Linked DNA regions of Homo sapiens: all the other regions are linked to region 5. Evidence: promoter capture Hi-C in 16 types of primary human blood cells and fetal thymus (Javierre and others, 2016). All regions are on one chromosome and are shown on one strand. Each heading gives the region's core, a stretch centred on a gene start or on the middle of the fragment in contact. The rest is flanking DNA. Distances are from core to core; before and after follow the strand shown. Region 1 overlaps SPATA6L (spermatogenesis associated 6 like). Region 2 overlaps CDC37L1 (cell division cycle 37 like 1, HSP90 cochaperone). Region 3 has its middle 7.2 kb from the start of AK3. Region 4 overlaps RCL1 (RNA terminal phosphate cyclase like 1). Region 5 holds the start of RIC1 (RIC1 partner of RAB6A GEF complex). Region 6 has its middle 54 kb from the start of JAK2. Region 7 overlaps RCL1 (RNA terminal phosphate cyclase like 1).

Region 1 (2,896 bases), core at 397-2,896, 970 kb before region 5:
CGAGCAGCAGCAGCAGCCCCGGCAGCCCAGCCCATGGCGGCGGTGGCGGCGGCAGCAGGTTTGAGTTCCAGTCCCTGCTCAGCAGCCGCGCCACGGCCGTGGACCCCACCTGCGCCCGGCTCCGTGCATCGGAGAGCCCAGTTCACCGCCGCGGCTCCTTCCCCCTGGCCGCGGCGGGCCCCTCGCAGTCGCCCGCGCCTCCGCTGCCCGAGGAGGACCGCATGGACTTGAACCCGTCCTTCCTGGGCATCGCCCTGCGCTCCCTGCTGGCCATCGACCTGTGGCTGTCCAAGAAGCTGGGGGTGTGCGCGGGAGAGAGCTCGTCGTGGGGCAGCGTGCGACCCCTTATGAAGCTGCTGGAGATCTCGGGACACGGCATCCCCTGGCTGCTGGGCACCCTCTACTGCCTGTGCAGGAGCGACAGCTGGGCCGGGCGCGAGGTGCTGATGAACCTGCTCTTCGCCCTGCTGTTGGACCTGCTGCTGGTGGCCTTGATCAAAGGGCTGGTCCGCAGGCGCCGCCCGGCCCACAACCAGATGGACATGTTTGTCACTCTCTCGGTGGACAAGTACTCCTTCCCCTCGGGCCATGCCACAAGGGCCGCCCTGATGTCGAGGTTCATCCTGAACCACCTGGTGCTGGCCATTCCACTGAGGGTGCTGGTGGTTCTGTGGGCCTTCGTCTTGGGCCTATCCAGGGTCATGCTGGGGCGGCACAATGTCACCGACGTAGCTTTTGGCTTTTTTCTGGGCTACATGCAGTACAGCATCGTGGACTATTGCTGGCTCTCACCCCATAATGCTCCGGTCCTCTTTTTACTGTGGAGTCAACGATGACACCATCTCATTGATTATGGCACCAGGAAGTCTGAAGGTTTCCACATTCGATGATGTCAACCTAAACCAGCAGCCATCCCGCTTGTCCCTCTTAGGCATTTCAGGCTTCCTTTGGGATTTCAGGTGTCCCATGATCTTGATGTGCTGCTAGGCTGGAGCACACACTGGCCATTACTGAACACAGCCATATTAGGGAAAGCAAAAAAACCCAAAAAATCCTCTATTGTATATTTATTCAACAACTGTTTATGTTTCCAGGACAACTGCAAAGAAAACAAGCTGAGGTGGTTATACTGTTGCTGTTAAAAGTTGGTATCAGTAAGATTTGTGTTTTGTGATAATCCCTAAATCAACATACCACTTGTAAACTGAACTTCGAGAAAGAAACATGATGTTCATTCTGTAAATATACATGCAGACAGGTCATGTACTAATCCTAGTCCTTTTCCTGAGGTAGATTTTAAACAGTATTTTTAAAGTCCAAGACATAGGTTTTTCTAGTTTATTCCCTGAAGATCTGTTGCCACAGTTGGGAGATTTCTTCTTAATCCTGATTTTCTTGGTAAGCTTTTTTACTTTATTATCTCTATAATTTATTATCTCTATCCATATTTGTGGATCGGGTAGTGGGAAAAGAGATTATAATACTTGTCTTTCTCTCCTCTCCCTCCATCCCTCAAAAGATCTTTATGCATTTCCCACTACTCCCTTACTGTCTTTTAGCATTCAGAGAAAAAGCCAACTTGCTTAAAGAGGAATCACTTAAAAGGTAGGCATATCTAAGATGCTCATAGAAGAGGAAGAATGGGACATGGCCCCATGCTTATTTTTGTTTACAACGTAACATGGCATGAGAGAGGGCAGAGAAACTAAGTTGCTGGGGAAAGTTAGAGGAACTGAAAGTTTGGGAATAGGCTGACCACATATTATGCCAGTGACCAGTATGACAGGAGATGGGGCCCTGCTGCCAGTCATCTCCACTGAATAAAGAATAATGCTCCTCTTTCAGGGTAATAAAGTGGGGAAAAGGAACGTCTTCTCAATGCAAGAACATAAGCTTTCTCGTATATACCTGTATGCTACAGTTTTTCACATGGAATTCCGTTTTCTGAGGTACAGCACATTTTAGGTAACAGTATTTAACTTGAAATTCATCATGGGAGTCTGCTGCTATACCAGGCACAAGATAAAACTCCAAAATTTCTGTTTACATTGACCTTTACATTTAAAGCTGTTCATCCATGGTGCCTCCCCAAATCATAAGACCAAAGACCACCAAACGCAGGGTGGACTCTGCTCATTATTCTTTGACCCAGAAAGACTGGAGAAGGTATGTGCTTTAAGTGCTGCTCTACCTGAAAAGAAATCCTTTAAATTACCTATGGAAGTGATGTCCTCAGATAATCTTAATGACTATTTTGGCATTTATAAATAGAAATGATTATGGACTTTGATCTGCCATACGGAGGTTCGGAACCTGGAGAACGGCTGTGATAAGTAGGTTTTGATTGAGTGAAAGCATGAGCTTGTTCAGAGTGAGGGGCATAGTGAAAAAGGAACAGCCATGCCTCAAAATCAAATCATTTGCATTCCCACAGCATCCTGAATACCGACTACCTCTTCACTTGCTAAAGCAGCTAAACTGTGAAGCTCTAAGTGGTTTGGGTTTGTTGTTTAACCTTAGCGAGATCCTTTAACTGCAGCAATATTCAAGCCAGATATTTGGAAGCAAATGATATTTCCTCTTGCAGTGTCCACAAATCTGAATATTAGGGGCATGAAATTAGGCTTACCATCTGATTTGTAATTACAATTTTGGAATTCTCTGTTTTAGTTGCTGAGGCCTGAGTTTTCTGGCTCTTAAAGCATAGATCATTTCACCTGATGTTTTTGAAGCATCCTAAGTACAGTAGAGTAGAAAACTGATTTCTTTGTTAATTGTACACTGAATAATGCCTTTTAAAAATCAAAATAAAATTAACAAATAATGGTGAATGAAGTGAGATGAAAACTTGCTTAATTTTTGCCTTGATGAGGAGGGAGACAGATTTATCACTTAG
Region 2 (3,316 bases), core at 128-2,627, 950 kb before region 5:
AAAAAAGCTTTGGCTTAATTTTATCAAATAAGGGGGATCTAGACTTCTTAATGTAGTATGTGATATGTAGTTCTTAGATCCAATTAATGTAAAGGCAGATCATGTTTAATGTCCCTCTAAAACTTCTGTATGGTCATGGATTAGAATGTGACCTAATATTTTATTTAATATCTGAATACATGTTGGATAGTTTGCCCAAATGGCCAAATGTTGTCTGGGTAGTTTGTGGAGAAATAAGACATACATTATTTTTAGAATTTTTCGATTTGAGAAAAGAATATTTGCTCCCAAATAATTTGAAAATGCAAGATAATTTCTATTTATCCATATTACCATATTACTTTTCTTGATATATTATCCTTTCTCTTTTTTTTTTTTTTTTTTTGAGGCAGTGTCTTGCTGTGTTGCCCAGGCTGGAGTGCAATGGCACGATATTGGCTCACCACAGCCTCCGCCTCCCAGGCTCATGTGATTCTCCTGCCTCAGCCTCCTGAGTAGCTGGGATTACAGGTGCCCACCACTGTGCCCAGCTAATTTTTTTTTTTTTTTGAGATGGAGTCTCGCTGTGTCACCCAGGCTGGAGTGCAGTGGTGCAATCTCGGCTCACTGCAACCTCTGCCATTCTGGGTTCATGCCATTCTCCTGCCTTAGCCTCCCAAGTAGCTGGGACTACAGGCACCCGCCACCATGCCCGGCTAATTTTTTGTATTTTTAGTAGAGATGAGGTTTCACCACGTTAGCCAGGATGGTCTCGAGCTCCTCCTCGTGATCCGCCCGCCTCGGCCTCCTGAAGTGCTGGGATTACAGGTGTAAGCCACCACTCCCGGCCATGCCCAGCTAAGTTTTAAAATATTTTTAGTAGAAACGGGGTTTCGCCATGTTGGCCAAGCTGGTTTCGAACTCCTGACCTCAGGTAATCCGCCCGCCTCAGCCTCCCAAAGTGCTGGGATTACAGGCGTGAGCCACTGAGCCCAGCCAAAAGAAGTTTTATATACAAAAGTTCTTACATCTTTTCTTACAAAATAAGTTATATAGCTTAATTTTTCTCCTTTTCCTGGCTCTGTTTTAAGCATAGCTAGTCTACAGTTATTCTTGATCCTATTCTAAGATAACTATTCTTGATCCTATTCTAAGATAACAAAAAGTAAAAATAAATATTTTATTTTAAAATATTATATTTTATATTAAAATATTTTATATTAAAATATAATATATATATTAAATATATATTATATTTATATATAAAATATATTTTAAAATATATTTTAAAATATACTTTATATATTTTATATATATATTTTATTTTTATATATAAAATATATTTTATATATATTTTATAATATATGAATATATATTATAAAATATACTTAGGGACATGGTTTATAGTACCTTGGCTCCAAACCTGCTGAATGAGTAAATAAAACATCTGAATAGCAAGTGTCCACATTTGTCCCAGTACAAACGTGAGTTTGCCTGAAGACTCAGCTAAGAGGTAGGGTCCTTGGTTACTACTTGCCTCAGAATTGTTTACCACCACCAGTCAGTAAACAAATAAGCATGATATTGTATGACAAACACCACAACAGAAATATGCATAACTTGGGTCGGGAGACACTGGGTCAGAAAAAGTTTAGGGCATGCCAGAATCTGGATGAAGATAGGAGTTTCTGTAGGAGTTACCTCGAAGAAAGAGGATTGCCAAATTGAAGTGAGGGACAAGGGTGGGAAAGGGAAGAATAAGCAAACAAGTAGAAGAGCAATGGGAACTGAGTCTAAAGAGGTAATGGGAAATAACATCACGAAGGGCTTTGCCACAGAGTATGTACTTTATCCCAAAGCTAAGAATGAAAAAAAAGATCAGATTCATTTTTTGGAAAGATCACTCCAGTCTAGTGGAGTGGAGAACGGCTTGGGATAAGAGTCTGCATTTGTATAATTCACATGTGAAATTATAAGGGCTTGAATAGTGATGCAGATATGGGAACAGATTGGAGAGAAATTATTCTGAAGTTGATGTACATTTGACGAAGAACTCATAAAGAATGTGCCTTCAGCTTTTGTTTTATAGAGCCAAGGAATATAGGGTATTGAATGTCTATCACAGTACTTTACATGTAGTAATTAAGTAAATAAAAGTAATTACTACTGCTTCGGAGTAGTACGGTCAGCAGGGTAGACCATTGTCACTTTTAAGAAATGTAACTTTGTGGCCAGGCGCAGTGGCTCATGCCTGTAATCCCAGCACTTTGGGAGGCCAAGGTGTGTAGATCACGAGGTCAAGAGATCAAGACCATCTTGGCCAACATGGTGAAACCCTGTCTCTACTAAAAATACAAAAATTAGCTGGGCATGGTGGCACATGCCTGTAGTCCCAGGTACTTGGGAGGCTGAGGCAGGAAAATCACGTAAACCCCAGAGGCAGAGGTTGCAGTGAACTGAGATCGCACCTTTGCACTCTAGCCTGGTGACAGAGCAAGACTCCATCACAAAATATATATATATATAATTTGCCTATTTTGATTAGGAATAAATTAAAGGATATCTGTCTGATATAATCAGTTATAAATGGAAATATCCAATAAGAACTTCTCAAATCACCAAGGATTGGAAAAATACAGATAGAAAATAGAAACCAAGAAACGATTACTTCTAGATAAAAGGAGGTTTTTTTGTAGTGAAGAATTTGGAGAACAAAATTATAAAGGCCTGGTTGTCAGCATGTTGAGTATTGAGGTGATGAACTAGATTTAAGCTTTGTTCTCATTATTCTGCTTGTTCAGGATTATGAAGACTATTAATTAAACGTTTGTTAAGCACTAGCTTTATGCAAGACACTGTGATAGTTGCCAGGCTTTTTGTTGCTGTTAGTTGTCAGGGGATAGGCCTAAATTAACAAAGAAGTTTAGAAGTTAGTTGATGAAACAAGGACTAAGATATAAAAACATGACTGCAGACCTAGAACACAGGATATACTATATACCAAAATATTGTACAGAAATCCTTTGAATTAAGAAAAATTGAACTGTGCTGCACAAACATCCATTGCTTTCTTCATTTCTTACAAATATTGTTTTTATCCAGATGTATAGCCATGGAATTGAATTGGCTTGCCAAAAGCAGAAAGAGTTTGTGAAGAGCTCTGTGGCGTGCAAATGGAATCTTGCTGAAGCTCAACAGAAACTTGGTAGCTTAGCACTGCATAATTCTGAGTCCTTGGATCAGGAGCATGCCAAAGCACAAACAGCAGTATCAGAACTGAGGCAACGGGAAGAAGAGTGGCGACAGAAAGAAGAAGCTCTAGTACAAAGAGAGAAGA
Region 3 (3,598 bases), core at 1,061-3,560, 880 kb before region 5:
CAAAGATTCTTTTTTTCTGAGCCATTTGAGATGCCCCATCATTCTTGAATACTTTCATGTATGTTTCCTACAATGACATTTTTGCATAACCACACTATAACTTTTAAAATAAGAAAAAAATCACATGACTAACATTTAATCAGACCTTATTCAGTTTTCCCCAAATGTTCCACTAATGTTCTTTATAACAGAAGTTATGAAATCATACAGTAAATTTTAGTTGTGTGATTTTCAAGATCACACATTGCATTCAGTTTCCATGTCTTTATTCTCTTTCAGTTCTCTTTCAATCTGGAGTAATTCCGTAGTCTTTCCTTGACTTTTATGACTTTGACACTCTTTGTTCATTGTTTTGTTTTCTTTTTTAACTTCCCATACTATGCCAGTGTAATGACCTTGACACTCTTGAAGATTATGGGAAGGTTATGTTGTAGAACACCCTCTCTTTGAGTTTATCTGATGTTCTCTCATGATTCTATTCAGCTTATTCATCTTTGGTAGATAATATTACAGAAGTAGTGCTGTGATTTTGTTATGTTCTATCAGATGGCATATGATTTTAATGTGTTGCATTATTGATGATGCTAACTTTGATCACCCAGTTAAGGTGGTGTCTGCAGGATCTCTCCACTATGAAATTACTCTTTTTCCATTTGTAATTAACAAGTATTCTAGGCCCGGCACGGTGGCTCACGCCTATAATCCCAGCACTTTGGGAGGCTGAGGAGGGAGGATTGCTTGAGCTCAGGAGTTTAAGACCAGCTGGGCAACAATTCAAAAAAAATTAGCTGGGCATGGTGGCCCAGCCTATATTCTTAGCCTCTCAGGGAGTGGGTTGAGTGGGGTGCTGAGGTGGGAAGATCACTTGAGCCCAGGAGGTGGAGGCTGCAGGGAGCTATGATCGTACCACTGCACTAGAGCCTGGGCAACGGTGTGAGACCCTGTCTTTAAAAAAAAAAAAAGTATTCTGTAAGAGGGTAGTTGAAGTTCAGACTTTGTAAATACCTTATCTTTCATCAAACTTTTAATTTACTCACTATCTTACATTTATTTATATGGTTTCTTATTTTATTAAATTGGTTGTAAGCCATTGTCATTATTATTTATTTTGATGTTCAAATCATTTAAGATTTGGCTAATGGAATCTCCTTCGTGTTAGCTAGCATCTGTGTCCTTTTGGCATGTCCCCATTACTCTTTGTGCACTTCTTTACTTTCTGGCATAAGAAGGTCCAGGTTCATCTTGGACTTCCTAGACCCAGCAACACATTGAAATGGCTGAGATCAACCATTTCTCCAAGAATCCCTGGTTTCCTTTAGTGGAATATGGAATTTAGAAACTGAGGCCCGTGCATTCAGTGTGCTCATTACTATTAATGTGTTGCTGCTTTAAGGCCCTCTCAGAGGACAGGGCTAAGGAATATGTAAATATGTTTGTATTCATTTACACACACGTTTACATCTACATTTATTTCTATGTTTATCTATGTATTACTGAAGCCATGAGTTTACATTGATACCTTCATTTCTGATCTAATATTCTAGGATTTATTTTCATTTTTTCCCTTCCATCCTTCACTACAATCCTAGTCTTGTCTTCTCCTCATATATTGAAGCCACCAATTTTTATTTTATTTTATTTTATTTTTTAGAGACAGAGTCTTACTCTGTCACCCAGGCTGGAGAGCAGTGGCATGATCATACCTCACTGCAGCCTCAACCTCCTGGGCTCAATTGATCCTACTGCTTCAGCCTCCCAAGTAGCTGGAACTACAGGCACATGCCATCACTCCCCACTAATTTTTATTTATTTATTTATTTTTAATTTTTTTTAGTAGAGACAAGATCTTGCTATGTTGGCCAGGTTGGTCTCAAATACCTGGGCTCCAGGGATCCTCCCACCTCAGCCTCTAAAATATTGGGATTACAGGTGTGAACCACTACATTCAGTCTTCTTTTATTCTTATCTACCTAACACAGAGTAACACATTGCTTCTGGATTTTGAGTTAGTGTCTCTAACAGACTCTCATGTCCTTCATGTATCCACATTTATGATCAGTCACTCTGTGTATACCCAACCTTCTATCACCACTGCCTACCCTTTCTCCATGCAGATGTCCTCCTCACCCCACTTGGGTTACAGAATTCCATGCCGACAATTCATCAGCCCGATATATGGACGCTGTTATCTGGCTGGGGCTCTGACACTCTATGCTGGACCAGACCACGCCCTCCAAAGACATCCTTCTCACCACTTCTGGGCTCTGACATCACAGGCCAGGCTGCTTATGACTATGAGCATTCTACTCACTCTGTGCAGACTCCAAAACCCTGAGCCACACTGTACTGCCGTCTACATGGAGAAATCTTCCTCACTCCACTCAGACTCTGGCACTTGTGCTGGGCAGCTCTCCTCTGCAGATGCCCTCTTCTTGCATATAGTTTAAATGTAGACCCAACGTGAGTCCCTGGTGGATTCGATGGATTAAAGTGAGGGAAAAAAAGAGATTTCTCCTGAGCTACTGGGAGAATAGAATTGTCATTAGCTGAGATTGGGAAGACTATAAGAGAAACAGGTTGGGTGAAAATATTAGAGTTGTTTTGGAATAAGTTAACTTCGAGATACCTGTTGGACATCCAGGCAGAGAAAATAAGGAAGGAGGCAGATGTATAAATTTTGACCACAGGGTAGAGGTCCAGGCTGGAGACATAAATTTGAGAGTTGTCAATATGTTTAAATTTTTGAGATGGTACAAGCTCACTAGGGAGCAACTTTAGATAGAGAGGAGAGGTCTGAAATCTGAGTTCTGAGGTTGTCTAACATTTTGAGGTTGGAAGATATGGAAGAAACATTGAAAAAACCTGAAAGAGAGGGAGAGGCCAATTAAGAAGAAAATTGGGTGAGTATGGTGTCGTGGAAGTCAATTGAAGAATGTGTTTCAAGAAGAATATGATGAAATGAGTCAAATTCTGCTGATAGGTAGGACTGAGAACTGATTGAAAATTATTTCTAGGCTGGGCACAGTGGCTCACGCCTGTAACCCCAGTACTTTGGGAGGCCGAAGTGGGCAGATCAGAAGGTCAGGAGTTTGAGACCAGCCTGGCCAGCATGGTGAAACCCTGTCTCCACTAAAAATACAAAAAATTAGCCAGGCATGGTGGCGCCTGCCTGTAGTCCCAGCTACTCAGGAGGCTGGGGCAGGAGAATCGCTTGAACCTGGCAGGTGGAGGTTGCAGTGAGCTGAGATCGTGCCACTCTACTCCAACCTGGGTGACAGAATGAGACTGTCTCAAAAAAAAAAAAAAAAAAAGGAAAAAGAGAAAAAAGAAAATTACTTCTAGTTGTCAAAAAAAACCCCTTATGAAATAAATTACATTTCATTTACAATTTATAGATTTAAAAAATGAGGATAATTTTGCCCCAAATTCCATAACTATTCAGCAGCTAAATTAGTGATTTCAAATTGTACTGGATGCATATAGGAAATGCTTTCTCTGAGGAGAAACTTCTGGGAGTAGAATTCAAATTATCCAGACAAGGATATTAGAGAAAAAAGAAAGATAAGGTCTAGACAAAAGTCAAGGAACAGAACAGAGA
Region 4 (3,569 bases), core at 848-3,347, 810 kb before region 5:
ACTATATTGTGCAGGTTGGTCTTAATCTCCTGGGCTCAAACGATCCTCCTGCCTTGGCCTCCTGAAAGGCTGGGATTACAAAGTTTGTAGTATATTTCAAAGTCACGTAGTGTAATGCCTCTTGCTTTGTTCTTTTTTCTCAGAATTGCTTTGGCTGTTAAAGGTCTTTTGCGGGTCCATATGAATATTAGGTTTTTTTTTCTGTTTCTGTAAATAATCTCATTGGTATTTTGATAGGGATTGCATTGAATCTGTAGATAAAGATGGAATGTGTTTCCATTTTTTTTGTGTGTGTCCTAAAGTTTTCCTTTTAGAGAGCTTTCACTTCCTTGGTTAAATTTATTTCTAGGTATTTTATGGTTTTTTTTAGTTCTTGTAAATGCGATTGCTTATTGATTTCTTTTTCTGCTAATTCATTGTTAGTATGTAAAAATGTTACTGATTTTTGTGTATTGATTTTATATCTTAGAACTACTGAATTTGTTTATCAGTTCTAGGAGTTCATGGCAGTACTTTAAGAGTTTTCTATATATAAGATCATGTTGTCTGCAAACGGGAACAGCTTAACTTCCTCCTTCCCGATTTGGATGCCCTTTATTTCTGTGTCTTGCCTAATTGCTTTGGCTAGGATAGGACTTCCAGTACTATGTTCAGTAGGAGTGGTGATAGTAGGCATCCTTGAGTTGTTCCAGATCTTAGAGGAAAAGCTTTAAAATTTCCCCCATTTGATCTAATTAAACTAAAGAGCTTCTGCACAGCAAAAGAAACTACCATCAGAGTGAACAGGCAACCTACAGAATGGGAGAAAATTTTTGCAATCTACCCATCTGACAAAGGGCTAATATCCAGAATCTACAAAGAACTTAAACAAATTTACAAGAAAAAAATCAAACAACCCCATCAAAAAGTGGGCAAAGGATATGAACAGACACTTCTCAAAAGAAGATATTTATGCAGCCAACAGACACATGAAAAAATGTTCATCATCACTGGCCATCAGAGAAATGCAAATCAAAACCACAGTGAGATACCATCTCACACCAGTTAGAATGGCGATCCTTAAAAAGTCAGGAAACAACAGGTGCTGAAGAGGATGTGAAGAAATAGGAACACTTTTACACTGTTGGTGGGAGTGTAAACTAGTTCAGCCATTGTGGAAGACAGTGTGGCGATTCCTCAAGGATCTAGAACTAGAAATACCATTTGACCCAGCCATCCCATTACTGGGTATATACCCAAAGGATTATAAATCATGCTGCTACAAAGACACACGCACACGTATGTTTATTGCGGCACTATTCACAATAGGAAAGACTTGGAACCAACCCAAATGTCCATCAGTGATAGACCGGATTAAGAAAATGTGGCACATATACACCATGGAATACTGTGCAGCCATAAAAAATGATGAGTTCAGGTCCTTTGTAGGGACATGGATAAAACTGGAAACCATCATTCTGAGCAAACTGTCGCAAGGACAGAAAACCAAACACTGCATGTTCTCACTCATAGGTGGGAATTGAACAATGAGAACACTTGGACACAGAGTGGGGAACTTCACACACCGGGGCCTGTCATGGGGTGGGGGGAATGACGAGTTAATGGGTGCAGCACACCAGCATGGCACACTTATACATATATAACCAGCACGTTGTGCACATGTACCCTAGAACTTAAAGTATAATTTAAAAAAATACAATAAAATAAAATTTCCCCCATTCAGTATGTTAGCTGTGAGTTTGTCATATACAGCCTTTATTGTGTTGAGGTGTGTTCTTTCTATACCTAACGTAAGAGTTTTTATCATGAGGGGGTTTTGAAATTTAAAAAAATTTTTTTTAGAGATAGGGTCTGACTTTGTTGCCCACGCTGAAGTGCAGTGATACAAGCATAGTTTACTGCAACCTTGAACTCCTGGGCTCAAGCAATCTTTCCGGCCTGGTCTCCCTACAGGTGTTTGCCACCATGCCCGGCTTTTGTATTTTTTGTAGAGATGGCGGTCTCGCTTTGTTGCCCAGGCTGGTCGCCAACTCCTGGGCATGATCATCCTCCTGCCTTGGCTTCCCAAAGTGTTGGGATTCTAGGCATGAGCCACAGTACTTAGCCTCCTGTCCTTATAAAAATTGTTTTCTGGTTGATTCGTGTCTCCTTTTTTTCTTCCCGTCTTATTGTTTGTCATTGCAGTTTGATGGTTTTCTATAGTGATAAGGTTTGATTTTTTTCTCTTTGTCCTTTGTGTATTTGTTCTACCAGTGAGTTTTATACTTTCATGTTTTTTCATGGTAGTGATTATCATTTTTTCATTTCTAGATGTAGGACCTTCTTGAGCATTTCTTGTAAGGCCTGGCTAATAGTAATGAATTTCCTCAGTTTTTGCTTGTCTGGGAAAGACTTCATTTCTGAAGGATAGCTTTTTTGGGTATAGTGTTTTTGGTTGACGTTTTTTTTTTCTTTCAGCATTTTGAATATATCATCTTATTCTCTCATGGTCTATAAGGTTTCTCTGGAGAAATCTGTTTTTAGTGTAATGGGGATTTCCTTGTATTAACTTGATGCCTTTTTCTCTTGCTGTTTTTAGAATTCTCTTTTTATCTTTCACTTTTGACAGTTTAACTATTAATATGCCTTGGGAAGACCCTTTTGGGTTGAATCTATTTTGGAACCTTTGAGCTTCCTAGATCTGTATGTTCATACCTCTTATCAGCCTTGGGAGCTTTTCACCTATTTCATTTGGCAGGCTTTCTGTGCTTCCTTTTTTCTCCTCCTGGAACTTTCATAACATGAACATTTGTTTGCTTAATGATTTCCTGTAAGTCTTGTAGGTGTTCTCATTTCATTTTCATTCTCATTTCTTATTTCTTTGAGTAGGTAATTTTGAAAGACTTATCTTCAAGTTCAGAGATTTGTGTCTTATGCTTGATCATGTCTGCTATTTTAGTTCTATTATATTTATTTCATTCATTGAAGTCTTAAGCTGCAGTATTTTTCTTTTCTTTTTTTTTTTTGCAACTGCAAATTTTAAAATTTATCCAGGAAGCATCAGATCTGGCCCAGTGGGGTGGGGTAGGGGTAGGTGGAGTGGCTCCATCTTCATTTGGCACCATGCTGAAAGGTACAGTAGCCGCTTAAAGCTCGGCTTGAGGATGTTGGGCCACTGGTCTAGGGTGTATCCTCACGGGAAAAGGGGAGTTTTTGCTGCTTGCTCCTGGAGCAAGACACACTCCAGCCATAGTTCTAATTCCAGGATAGTGTAGCGCAGGCCACAGGGAGCTGGGCACGGTGTTGACTCCTTCTCTGTGGGGAGCACAGCTACGTATGTATACTCCAGGCAGCTTAGGCCTATGAGGACTGCAGGGTTCCTCAGTGGTGAGGTCTGTAAGTGTCTAAGGTATTGATAGGGATCGCTAGGATCCTCTTCCTTACCTCCTTGCAGCAGGGAGAAGTCCTTTTGGTTCCCAGCTGATCCTGATTGGGGATTGGGGTGATAGAAGCTTGGCATTTCCTTCTGCTCTCTCTGTGGTCATCTCGAGTTTCTTTTATAAACTCTTCTGATGCACTCTGGCACCCTT
Region 5 (3,308 bases), core at 604-3,103:
GCTGCACTAGAACATTTTCATTTCCTCTTTCTGCCAAGTGCATAACTGAATCTAAGATGAAAGTATGATGCAACTTTGTTATTCTACAATTTGAAATTGGCAAGTTAAGAAACCTCTCTGGGCCTCTTTGTCTAATGGTGTAGCTCAGCTGGATCAGGGTTTCCTCCACGGTTTGTCTGACAAATACTGCCAGCTTACTATGCTTACTATGTTCCAGGCTGCTGTGTTGGACTGGGGGAGGGTAGACGCCAAGGAGACAATCTGATCGCAACAGGCTGGTGAGTGGTGAGGCAGTTTCAACCTCCATTTGAGGAATACAGGATTCTATCATCACCTTCCAGGGAATGCAGTGAATGTTTAGAAAAATTACAGAAAGTTACATATTTGGTTATGAATACCAGCTACAATGCTATATCTAATATGAATTAAGTTTCTTTGTTTCCTTTTTTCTGTTTATGTTGCTACTTTTTTTTTTTTTTTTGAGACAGTCTCACTCTGTTGCCCAGGCTGGAGTGCAGTGGAGGGATCTTGGTTTGCTGCAACTTCCGCCTCCCAGGTTCAAGCGATTCTCCTGCCTTAGCCTCCTGAGGAACTGGGATTACAGGCACCTGCCACCACGCCCAGCTAATTTTTGTATTTTCAGTAAGACGGGGGTTTCACGATGTTGGCCAGGCTGGTCTCGAACTGCTTACCTAAAGTGATCTGCCCGCCTCGGCCTCCCAAAATGCTGGGATTACAGGCGTGAGCCCCAGCACCCCGCCTACGTTGCTACTTTTTAATGTGGGGTCATTTTTTAAACCTGGCTTTTTAATTGAAAAAGTAATACAAACATATGGAAAAATTCAAACTGTACTAAAAAAGGTAGACAATGAGAAGCAAATCTTTCTTCTATTTCAGACTCCTCCTTCCCCCATTCCACACCATATCCCCTCAACCCTCCTTCTATTCAGACGTTACCACTGGGTCAATCCGTTGAAAGTTACAGCTAAGGTGATACCTGGGGTCCAAAAGCTAAATATGGACCTACGCTATCACCAGTCCCTTCCAGTTCTAAAACTAAGTCCAAGCCTTTTGCAGCACGAAAGAGATAGCCTCCTCTCATCTAAAGTTATGGCTGGTAAGGCTGAGACGAATGGAAATGGATTTCAAAGACATAGATTTAGAACTCCTGAAAGGCAGGAGACAGAACTCAATACTTTCATGGTGAGTGGTTTATTTACTGATTAAATAAACGCTCCCTTAGGGATGTAAGCTCCACACCGGCAGGAGCTTCATCACCAGCTCTCACTGCAGACCCCGGCATTAAAGGAGCTCACACGGTAAAAGCCCCTACCGCCCACCACAGCCACAGCGGCCGGCAGCCCAAAGTGGGAAACCGCGCCGGCCGTCACGTGACTCCAGCTCCCCCCGGCAACCGGCCCGCCCCCACCGAGACCCCGCCAATCCGGAAGGGAGGTCCAATTTGGCCAGGCCAGGGCGTGTTCCACCGGCCCAGTAGCCTTGCTGCTGCGTTATCCCTAGACTCGCCCCACTTGCCTCGGAGTCTCAGGCCGTTGCCTAGGTCCTCCCGGTAAAACCCTGGAGACTGCTAGGGAGAGGAGCAAGGGAGGGGCCAGCGCGCAGAAGTGCGGACGCAACCCGGCGGCCGCGGGCGAGGCTTATGCAGAGCTTCAAGAAACAGCTAGGGAGACCGCAGGAGTCTCCAGAGCGCGCGCGCGGGCCCTCCCCGGCCCGACCCACGCGGCGCGGCGTGGTGACGCCCGCGCGGCCTGAGGAAGGGGCGGGGTCGGGGCGGGCCTCCGCGCTCCTCCCGCCCTCTCTGTGTCCCTACTCTCCCTCCCCTTCCCTCCCCCACACTCGGCCCCGTCAGCTTGGGGGTGCCTTCGTCGCGCAGCCTTGCGTCGGCCCGGCCCGGCCAGGCCAGCGGGCAGATGCCCCGAGCTGCCGCCGCCGCCGCCGCCGACTCGGCCGGTGGCGGTGTGGGAGGTGGGCGACCAGCCCGGGGCCGCTGAGTGTGACGGACGCAACTGGGGGCGCCGGGGGCTCCGCACGGACCATGTATTTTCTGAGCGGCTGGCCCAAGAGGCTGCTGTGCCCTCTGGGGAGCCCGGCCGAGGCGCCTTTCCACGTTCAGTCCGACCCGCAGAGGGCTTTCTTCGCCGTGCTGGCCGCGGCCCGCCTCAGCATCTGGTACAGCCGAGTAAGTAGAGCCGCCCGCCGCCTTTCGCCGCTGCCTCCCCGGCCTCCCGGCGCCGTCCCACCCCCAACTTCCACCCAGAGCCTAGGACTCCTGCCCCTTCGTGCCAGACCCACCTGCCTTCGCAGTCCGCGTCCTCGTTCCACCGAATTGGCCGCAGGTACCCGCCGGCTGCAGGCACGTCCTCCAGCCGGCGGTCCGGGGTGGATGAAGTCGCTGCTGCCGAAAATCCCTGAGCCTCCCCGCGTTGGACCGACGGCCGCGGCGTGCAGACTCCGCACGCTCCCCGGCCGAGCCCAGACTTGTTCTTCTCTCCCTTCCCCCATTCCCCGAGGGACAAATTTGTTTAAACTTTCCACAATTAGAAATCCGGCCGCTGTGGTGCCCCAACCCTCCCTTACTTTAAAGGTCGCCGTTTTGGAGTTAGGGAAAGCCTCTTGGGCTTTACCCAGCGCCAGACTTTACAGGCCTGTAATAACTTATTTCTACAAACTACAGCCTGAATTCTTTATTCTTCACTAAAGGTCTGGTTATTTAACTCCCCTCTTTAACCCCAACATCCCTTCCCCACTTTCGAGTTGGTCTTTTTCTTTGCTGCTGCTCTTGGACTCTTCGGAATAGGGGGTTAAAGGAGCGGAAGTAGAACTCAAATCTGTCCGCGGAACTCCCAGTTATAACACCTGGAAATAATAAGGCTTGGGAGGAGCATGGAACTGAATTCTGTTTTTGCTTTAAGTCCTGGTTATCTTTTTCTTTCTTGTATTGAATTACTGAGTAGATATGAGAAAGAAATAAGTGGTGGATGGGATACTCCCTACTCTCTGCAAACACTGCTATAACTTTGTCTATGAGAACGACAGAGTTCAGAGTATAAAAATGCTTTTTTTCCTCCCCAAAGAAGGCAGTACCAATCGATGTCAGAGTGAAGTTTTTCTCCTTTCCAAGTTAATTTGACCATGTGGGGATAGGTTGTGATCTTGTCCTTATTAGGTGTTCGTGAAATACTGGTTTTAGTTTGTTAAAATCCCCAAATCTTTGTGTGTTGCTGTTCCATTACCTGTAATGCCCTTGACAGTCCTCACCCACTTCCCTGGTAATACTGGTGATGGGA
Region 6 (3,192 bases), core at 282-2,781, 700 kb before region 5:
ATGACGAAGCCTGTGCAAGATCTGATAGTCTACACAGAGATGCTTTATAAATTTCCCAGGAAAGGGTAACTCATTGAGTCATCAAATATTTGCACAATCTGAATCTTCCAGAGGTCAAGGAATAATTGTAAATGGTATTTGGACTGATGGCTCTGTAGTTCAGAAGGTGCTTGATTGTGCATGTGTGTGTGTATAGATTTGAGAGGAGCATAGCTCTCTATCCTCATCTACTTTCAATTTATGCTTGTACTTCTCAACTTTATTACTGTTTGATATTGGGGGAAAGAATGGTTTTGACATCAGCGGCAAAGTTGTCAAGATCTTGGATGATTTATTCCTGAATTATCTGGCACAAAGTCTCACTGAAAGGTTCATAGTTATATTTTATGTACTGAAATCAAGACATGGAAATAACTTTAGCTTACAAAATGGATATTTCTGGATCTATACTTGGACCTATAGAAATATGTGAAATCAGACAAAAGCAGAAGTGATGGTAAGATTATATTCAGTAATTCAACTAGCCGATGATAATATCTGGGACTTTGGGAGAAGGCCGTGATGAATGTTTTATGAAGCTGAAGAAATGTGGGTAATAAAAATGTAGTTGGCTATGAAGACCTTCCTAATAAAAAAAGGTTGTTAAGTCTTAGAATCACTTCTTAAGTGCTGACGGAATTTTCTGTTTTAAGACAATAGATAGCTGGCCAGTGGCTTAGGGCTTTACTACTCAAGGTGTAGTCCAAAGATCAGCAACATTAGTGTCACCTGGGAGCTTGTTAGAACTGCCTGGACACCACCACAGAGCTACCAATCGGAATCTGCGTTTTAACAAGATGCCCAAGTTATTTGTATGCATGCTAAAGTTCGAGAAGCAAACAGGCTTGGAGTACTGTTCTCAAACTTGACTGCATATTAGATAAACTGGGGAACATTAAAATATTGATGCCTGGCTGGGCGTGGTGCTTCACACCTGTAATCCCAGCACTTTGGGAGGCCGAGGCGGGTGGATCACGAAGTCGGGAGTTCAAGACCAGCCTGACCAACATGGTGAAACCCTGTCTCTACCTAAAATAACAAAAATTAGCCAGGTGTGGTGGCATGTTCCCATAGTCCCAGCTACTTGGGAGGCTGAGGCAGGAGAATTGCTTGAATCTGGGAGGCGGAGGTTGCAGTGAGCCAAGACCATGCCATTGCACTCCAGCCTAGGTGATAGAGTGAGACTCCGTCTCAAAAAAAAAAAAAAAAAAAAATTGATGCCCACCTCCAGAGATTCTGATTGAGTGGGTTCAAGATGTGGTCCTCATGTTGGGATTTTTTGAAGCTCTTCAGATAATTCTAGTGTGCAGCACTTTCCATTGCCTTAGAACTGGCTGGAAGGTTTGGCTTACAGAAGCCCTGAGCTCAGACATCCTGACAGTCGTGTTTTATTATTATTATTATTATTTTCAATAGTGGTAAAATACACATACAAAATTATATCTCTCTTTTTTTTTTTTTTTTTTGAGACAGAGTCTTGCTCTGTTGCCCAGGCTGGAGTACAGTGGCGCGATCTTGGCTCACTGCAAGCTCTGCCTCCCAGGTTCATGCCATTCTCCTGCCTCAGCCTCCCGAGTAGCTGGGACTACAGGTGCACACCACCATGCCCGGCTAGTTTTTTGTATTTTTAGTAGAGACAGGGTTTCACCATGTTAGCCAGGATGGTCTCAATCTCCTGACCTCATGATCCACCTGCTTCGGCCTCCCAAAGTACTGGGATTACAGGCGTGAGCCACCACGCCCAGCCACATAATTATATCTTAATTGTGGTGAAACAAATATAACATAGAAGTTACCATTATAATCATTTTTAAATGTACCATTCAGTGGCATTAGTTACATTCACAATGTTGTGTAAATATCACGACTATTTCCAGAATTCTTTCCATCATTCCAAAAAGAAATTCCACACTCATTAAGTAGTTGCTACCTATTCCCCCCAATCCCAATCTATGACAACCATTAGTCTGCTTTCTGTCTTTATGTGTTTACCTATTCTGGATGTTCCATATAAATGGAATAATAAAATATGTGAACATTTGTGTCTGGCTTCTTTCACTTAGCATAACGTTGTCAAGGTTAAGCCACATTGTGGCATACCTCAGAATTTCATTCCTTTTTACCACTGAAGAATATTGCATTGTATAGGTATAACACATTTTGTTTATCCTTTCATCTGTCATCTGTCGATGGACATTTGGATTGTTTTTACCTTTTAGCTATTGTGAATAATGCTGCATTGAACATTGGTGTAAAACTATCTGTTTGCTTCTCTGCTTTCAGTTCCTTTGGGCATGTACCCGGGAGTGGAATTGTGGAATCAGATGGTAATTTTATGTTTAACTTTTTGAGGAACCATCAAATTGTTTTCCATGGTGGCTGCACCATTTTACATTTCCAGCAGCAATGCATGAAGGTTCTCATTACATGGGCATATATTGCCATACTAATAAAACACTTCCATGGTGACACATTGATGGTAGATTCTCTGAAGAACTAGGTTATGTTGCTACAGTAGTTTCTGCTCTGGGTAGGGCATAGCACCAGCTGCATCACTACCATCCATGCAAGGAATTGGGAGAAATGAGAATAGGGGAGAGACAAGAAGAGCAGTGCTGCGTCTCTCTTACTGAGGGGTTCCAATTAGAGATCCCCTAGAAGTTAGAGTCCCAAATGAATGGATTACTCTCTTTTCCCCAGGCCACTTTCCCTCTTTCCTAATACCTAGGTATCCGGAACTTCCACAGGGCTGAGGTTGCATGCGAATTTCTTCAAGGTTAGTAACTGCCTCACCTGGTTGGCATCCAGCAGCCCATGGTGCAGGTACAGGATAGTTGTTTGGAGTTTTGTTCGCAAGGAGACTAATTTAAATTACTGCAAGTAAGGAGGAGGGTATTTTAAGGATACAAGGGAGGTTATATCCCTAACCATGTGAGAAAAAGCAAAACAATTGAGCTTTGGGGAGACAGGAGCCAGACAGTGGTTCTGTCTTCTGGGAGGCTCTGGAGACCTCTCTCATGAGTGAATGGAGCTTTTCTTTGGTTTTCCATCATTAATGGATCCTAGGTACTGTTTGCATGTTTGCTTTTTCTGTCTTGCAGATGTATTCTTTCTCTCTTTGATTATTTTCTTTCCTCTGTTTCAACTTGTGCT
Region 7 (3,120 bases), core at 193-2,692, 790 kb before region 5:
CCTCGTTCTACCTGTTGGACTTGTCACGTGGGGTTTGTATCAGGGTAGTGGGAAGGTCACATGTTATTTCTCCATTTTTTTAGTTCCAAATATATAGCCATCTCTTGACCATACATTGCACATTGAAGTGCTCAATACATACTTACTTTTTCTTTGACATGTGTGGTTGGGGAATGCCAGCTTCTGTTATAAAGTCTAGTTTTAGGCAATAATTTCCATTTCCTCAAGCACCAATCTTTTCACTTGAGTTACTAATATCTTCCTCCTTTCTTTTCTGGGGTGCCCTATTGTAGGAGTGCTAATTATCAATATTTTAACCATAAGGTAGCAGGTGTGAGGAGGCTGTGTTATCCACAAGTGGAGTAATTAATTCTTAAATAGTAGAAAATAGGCCCTGTAAATGAGAAAAACCTTTTTATATATTTATAAATAGCAGCAACCATGTTCTTTCACTGAACTTTTTCTGCTTCTCCCATCAGCATACCAGGAGTCAGATTGGGATCGCCCAGGTCCTGTGTGGTGTCTGTTCTGGGCTTAGGTTCTTAAGAGAGAGACTCATTGGCTACAGCAGTGGGAATGGACAGAGAATAGAAAGTGTTCTTAGGTGTTGTGCTTCAGAGGGAGCCTGGATCATGACCCGCAGAGAGGCAGGTGTCTTTACACCTTCCAAAATTGACTTGAACCATTTCTAGGGGAAGCGTGTGGGTAGGAAGTCAGGGGGTGGGGTTGAGGACCTCCAGCTTTATACTTTCCACTGTCTCTATTGTTTGGGTGTTTTTGCCATGACCTTTTATAATAATGAAAAAAATTTAATTATGGTACTAATTCAGTAAATTCAGTTGGAAAACAATAGATTTGGAAGTCCCAGTTTGTTACTACAGTTCCACAAATACTTGCCAGCTTTATAACTGATTTTTCTCTGTCCTGGAATTCAAGCAGAATGACATCCTTAACTCCAGGCTGCAGGTACTCTGTACGTGTGTCACCTCAGATGGCGAACCGGATTGTGGATTCTGCAAGGAGCATCCTCAACAAGTTCATACCTGATATCTATATTTACACAGATCACATGAAAGGAGTCAACTCTGGGAAGTAAGTATCTGTGTTTTTGAAGTCTGTTTCTGCAGCTTTTTCACATGCCTGTTCTAGTTGAAGTTAAAACTGCCAGCTCTGAGGTTGCGCAGCCAGAGGAAGAACAATTTCAGAATTAATTTCTTTCTGCCTTATTGCCGTTGTCACCAACAGGCATTTCTTGAGTGCCTGTCACATGGAAAGCATCCCAGTGGCTAGAGCTGGAAGCTAAGGGTCTGGTTCCTAGCCTTGGGGAATTAAAACCTTTATCTATTAATACACAATGCTTTAGGCTTTAAATTCCATCTGCACTCTGTTCCAACAAAAAAATTAAAGTGGACAGGTTCTTCCACCCTGAGTAAATAACAGTATAGGGTTAAAATCTTTTGTTATCTAAGTGTAAGTCAGCATCTCTCTTCATCAGTGGAAACAACATATTTACATCCAGAGAAAGTTGTTATTGCAGACGTGAATTTGGTTTAGTGAAAGCCTTTGCTTTGCTAAAAAATAAAAATTTTAAAAATTAGAAAAAAATTCTAAGTAAGGAAAATAAGTTCTTAAAAAATGATGCTCTATGTAATGAAGATACCTGTTTTAGGCTTTGCTTGTGTATTTAGCAACTAGGAAGTTAGAGAAGCAATTAAAGCCACTTTCTTAAAATAGGAAAGTGTTAAACATACAGAAAAGATCAAAGAATAGTACAGTGAACACGGAGATATACTCCTGCTGCCTATAGTTAACGATAAATATTTTGCCAAATTTGCTTCACTTGTTTGTGGGTTTTGTTTGTTTTTGTTTTTTACTGAATCATTTCAGTGTGAATGGGCATCATTTCACTTCACATCTGAGGCTTTGCAGGTTGTGTCTCCTAAAAATAAGAATATTAGAGTCTGGGGTTAACTGTTGTAGGTTAAGAAGTCAACTTCTTCTTAAGTGATGCCACAGCTGATCCTTTTTCACAGCTGTTTCACCTGTGGTTTCTTTTAATTTCAGCAAAAAGAGGAAAAGAGAGTAAAGGAGGGGGGTGAGTGTTTTATACAACCTTTGACCTTTATAAGGCCCAATGGAAAGATGAAGGTAGTTTTAGAAATACAGTGGAGGCTCATAGTCCAAAGCAACAAAGCTGGTGGCGTCATAACGCTGGGGTTGGGAAAGGATTTGTGGGCAAAGCTGGACTTTCTGGCTTGGAAAAGTCAATGATGTTCCTAAACCTTTGGTTTATATTCTAGTAACAACAGTATTTTCCTCATTTATGCATTGAGGGTGATGATGCCTATGTTTTGGGGTTATTGTAAAGATCACACATATAAGCCATTAATACCTTGCTTGTCACATGGTAAGTCCTACAGAAATGGTAGCTCCTGATGCTGTTCTTTCCTTTACTCTCCCTTGTTGGCCACAGGTCTGGAATTATGTGTCAGCTATTTTCTGGAGAAAGGGGATTTCCGAGGGATGGGGGAGGACAGATAGCAGCAGAAGCTGTCTAAATGGCTTCATCTCGATAGTCCCTTCTCTGCTTTGCCTCTCGCTTTATCAGAAAGTGTCCTGGCATGAAGCAGAGCAGGCCTGACAGCCATCCTGCCACCAGCTTATAGTGTGGCTTTTTGTTATACCACTGACTCAGCTGACCCTAGAGTGTGGTCAAGTCCATACTTACTAATGGTGAGTAGAAGCCTTACACGTAGATAAAGACATGGACATGATGTAGACTGTGGGCCATCAACTCCAAGCCCCATTTTAAAAATTACATGTAAAACCAATGTGGGATTTAAATTTGTGTTTGGTTTTTTTAAATCTCCAGTTACAGATGACTAATAGTGCTCTTCCTTCTCTGTTATTAAAATTATAAAGTCATGGATGGGTATTTCTCTCTTCTGATTCAGTGAAGTATCCAGTAAGTCAGGCTTGTTCAGATGTAAGAGTTTATGTTGTGGCCATGGCCTAGAACCTTAGGGGACAGCACTTCTTGGTGGCCTATGTCAGCGCTTTGGCCAGAATGCACATCAGTCCAGTGTGGTCCCATTTTAACTCTCACAGTAATTTTTTTTT

The links. The method cuts DNA at HindIII sites, captures the fragments that hold promoters and counts their contacts. A CHiCAGO score of 5 or more calls a contact.
Region 1: a contact is called between a fragment that was not itself captured here and the fragment with the promoter of RIC1 in region 5, in 5 of 17 cell types (neutrophils, non-activated CD4 T cells, total CD8 T cells and 2 more). The highest score is 9.7, in neutrophils.
Region 2: a fragment that was not itself captured here is called in contact with the fragment with the promoter of RIC1 in region 5 in 4 of 17 cell types (neutrophils, erythroblasts, monocytes and 1 more); the score reaches 14.8 in neutrophils.
Region 3: a contact is called between a fragment that was not itself captured here and the fragment with the promoter of RIC1 in region 5, in 14 of 17 cell types (neutrophils, monocytes, fetal thymus and 11 more). The highest score is 24.3, in neutrophils.
Region 4: a fragment that was not itself captured here is called in contact with the fragment with the promoter of RIC1 in region 5 in 1 of 17 cell types (neutrophils); the score reaches 5.5 in neutrophils.
Region 6: a fragment that was not itself captured here is called in contact with the fragment with the promoter of RIC1 in region 5 in 1 of 17 cell types (monocytes); the score reaches 7.1 in monocytes.
Region 7: a fragment that was not itself captured here is called in contact with the fragment with the promoter of RIC1 in region 5 in 1 of 17 cell types (neutrophils); the score reaches 5.8 in neutrophils.

Annotation. Positions count from the first base shown.
Region 1 is chr9:4,662,428-4,665,323 of GRCh38, forward strand. The region is part of intron 1 of SPATA6L (spermatogenesis associated 6 like); the gene reads right to left. It overlaps PLPP6 (phospholipid phosphatase 6), which reads left to right. Exons shown (of 1, transcript NM_203453.5): 1 at 1-2,831. The coding sequence ends at 836. Among named protein-coding and RNA genes, the nearest start is that of PLPP6, 1.6 kb to the left of the region's middle. RefSeq lists a silencer at 2-261. The HindIII fragment of the contact is 490 bases long and covers 1,402-1,891 here.
Region 2 is chr9:4,681,796-4,685,111 of GRCh38, forward strand. It overlaps CDC37L1 (cell division cycle 37 like 1, HSP90 cochaperone), which reads left to right. Exons shown (of 7, transcript NM_017913.4): 2 at 3,082-3,316. Among named protein-coding and RNA genes, the nearest start is that of CDC37L1, 3.9 kb to the left of the region's middle. The HindIII fragment of the contact is 2,745 bases long and covers 6-2,750 here.
Region 3 is chr9:4,746,565-4,750,162 of GRCh38, forward strand. No RefSeq gene overlaps it. Among named protein-coding and RNA genes, the nearest start is that of AK3, 7.2 kb to the left of the region's middle. The HindIII fragment of the contact is 4,823 bases long and covers 1-3,598 here.
Region 4 is chr9:4,812,461-4,816,029 of GRCh38, forward strand. All of the region lies in intron 1 of RCL1 (RNA terminal phosphate cyclase like 1), which reads left to right. Among named protein-coding and RNA genes, the nearest start is that of RCL1, 21 kb to the left of the region's middle. RefSeq lists an enhancer at 3,121-3,270. The HindIII fragment of the contact is 2,784 bases long and covers 706-3,489 here.
Region 5 is chr9:5,627,254-5,630,561 of GRCh38, forward strand. RIC1 (RIC1 partner of RAB6A GEF complex) reads left to right here and starts at 1,854. Exons shown (of 26, transcript NM_020829.4): 1 at 1,854-2,200. The coding sequence starts at 2,057. INCR1 (interferon stimulated noncoding RNA 1) reads right to left here and starts at 2,474. Exons shown (of 3, transcript XR_007061406.1): 1 at 2,314-2,474. RefSeq lists enhancers at 44-263, 2,174-2,674 and a silencer at 1,614-2,153. The HindIII fragment of the contact is 4,913 bases long and covers 1-3,308 here.
Region 6 is chr9:4,930,062-4,933,253 of GRCh38, forward strand. No RefSeq gene overlaps it. Among named protein-coding and RNA genes, the nearest start is that of JAK2, 54 kb to the right of the region's middle. The HindIII fragment of the contact is 9,721 bases long and covers 1-3,192 here.
Region 7 is chr9:4,840,266-4,843,385 of GRCh38, forward strand. RCL1 (RNA terminal phosphate cyclase like 1) reads left to right here. Exons shown (of 9, transcript NM_005772.5): 6 at 967-1,092. Among named protein-coding and RNA genes, the nearest start is that of MIR101-2, 8.5 kb to the right of the region's middle. RefSeq lists a silencer at 2,044-2,338. The HindIII fragment of the contact is 7,127 bases long and covers 1-3,120 here.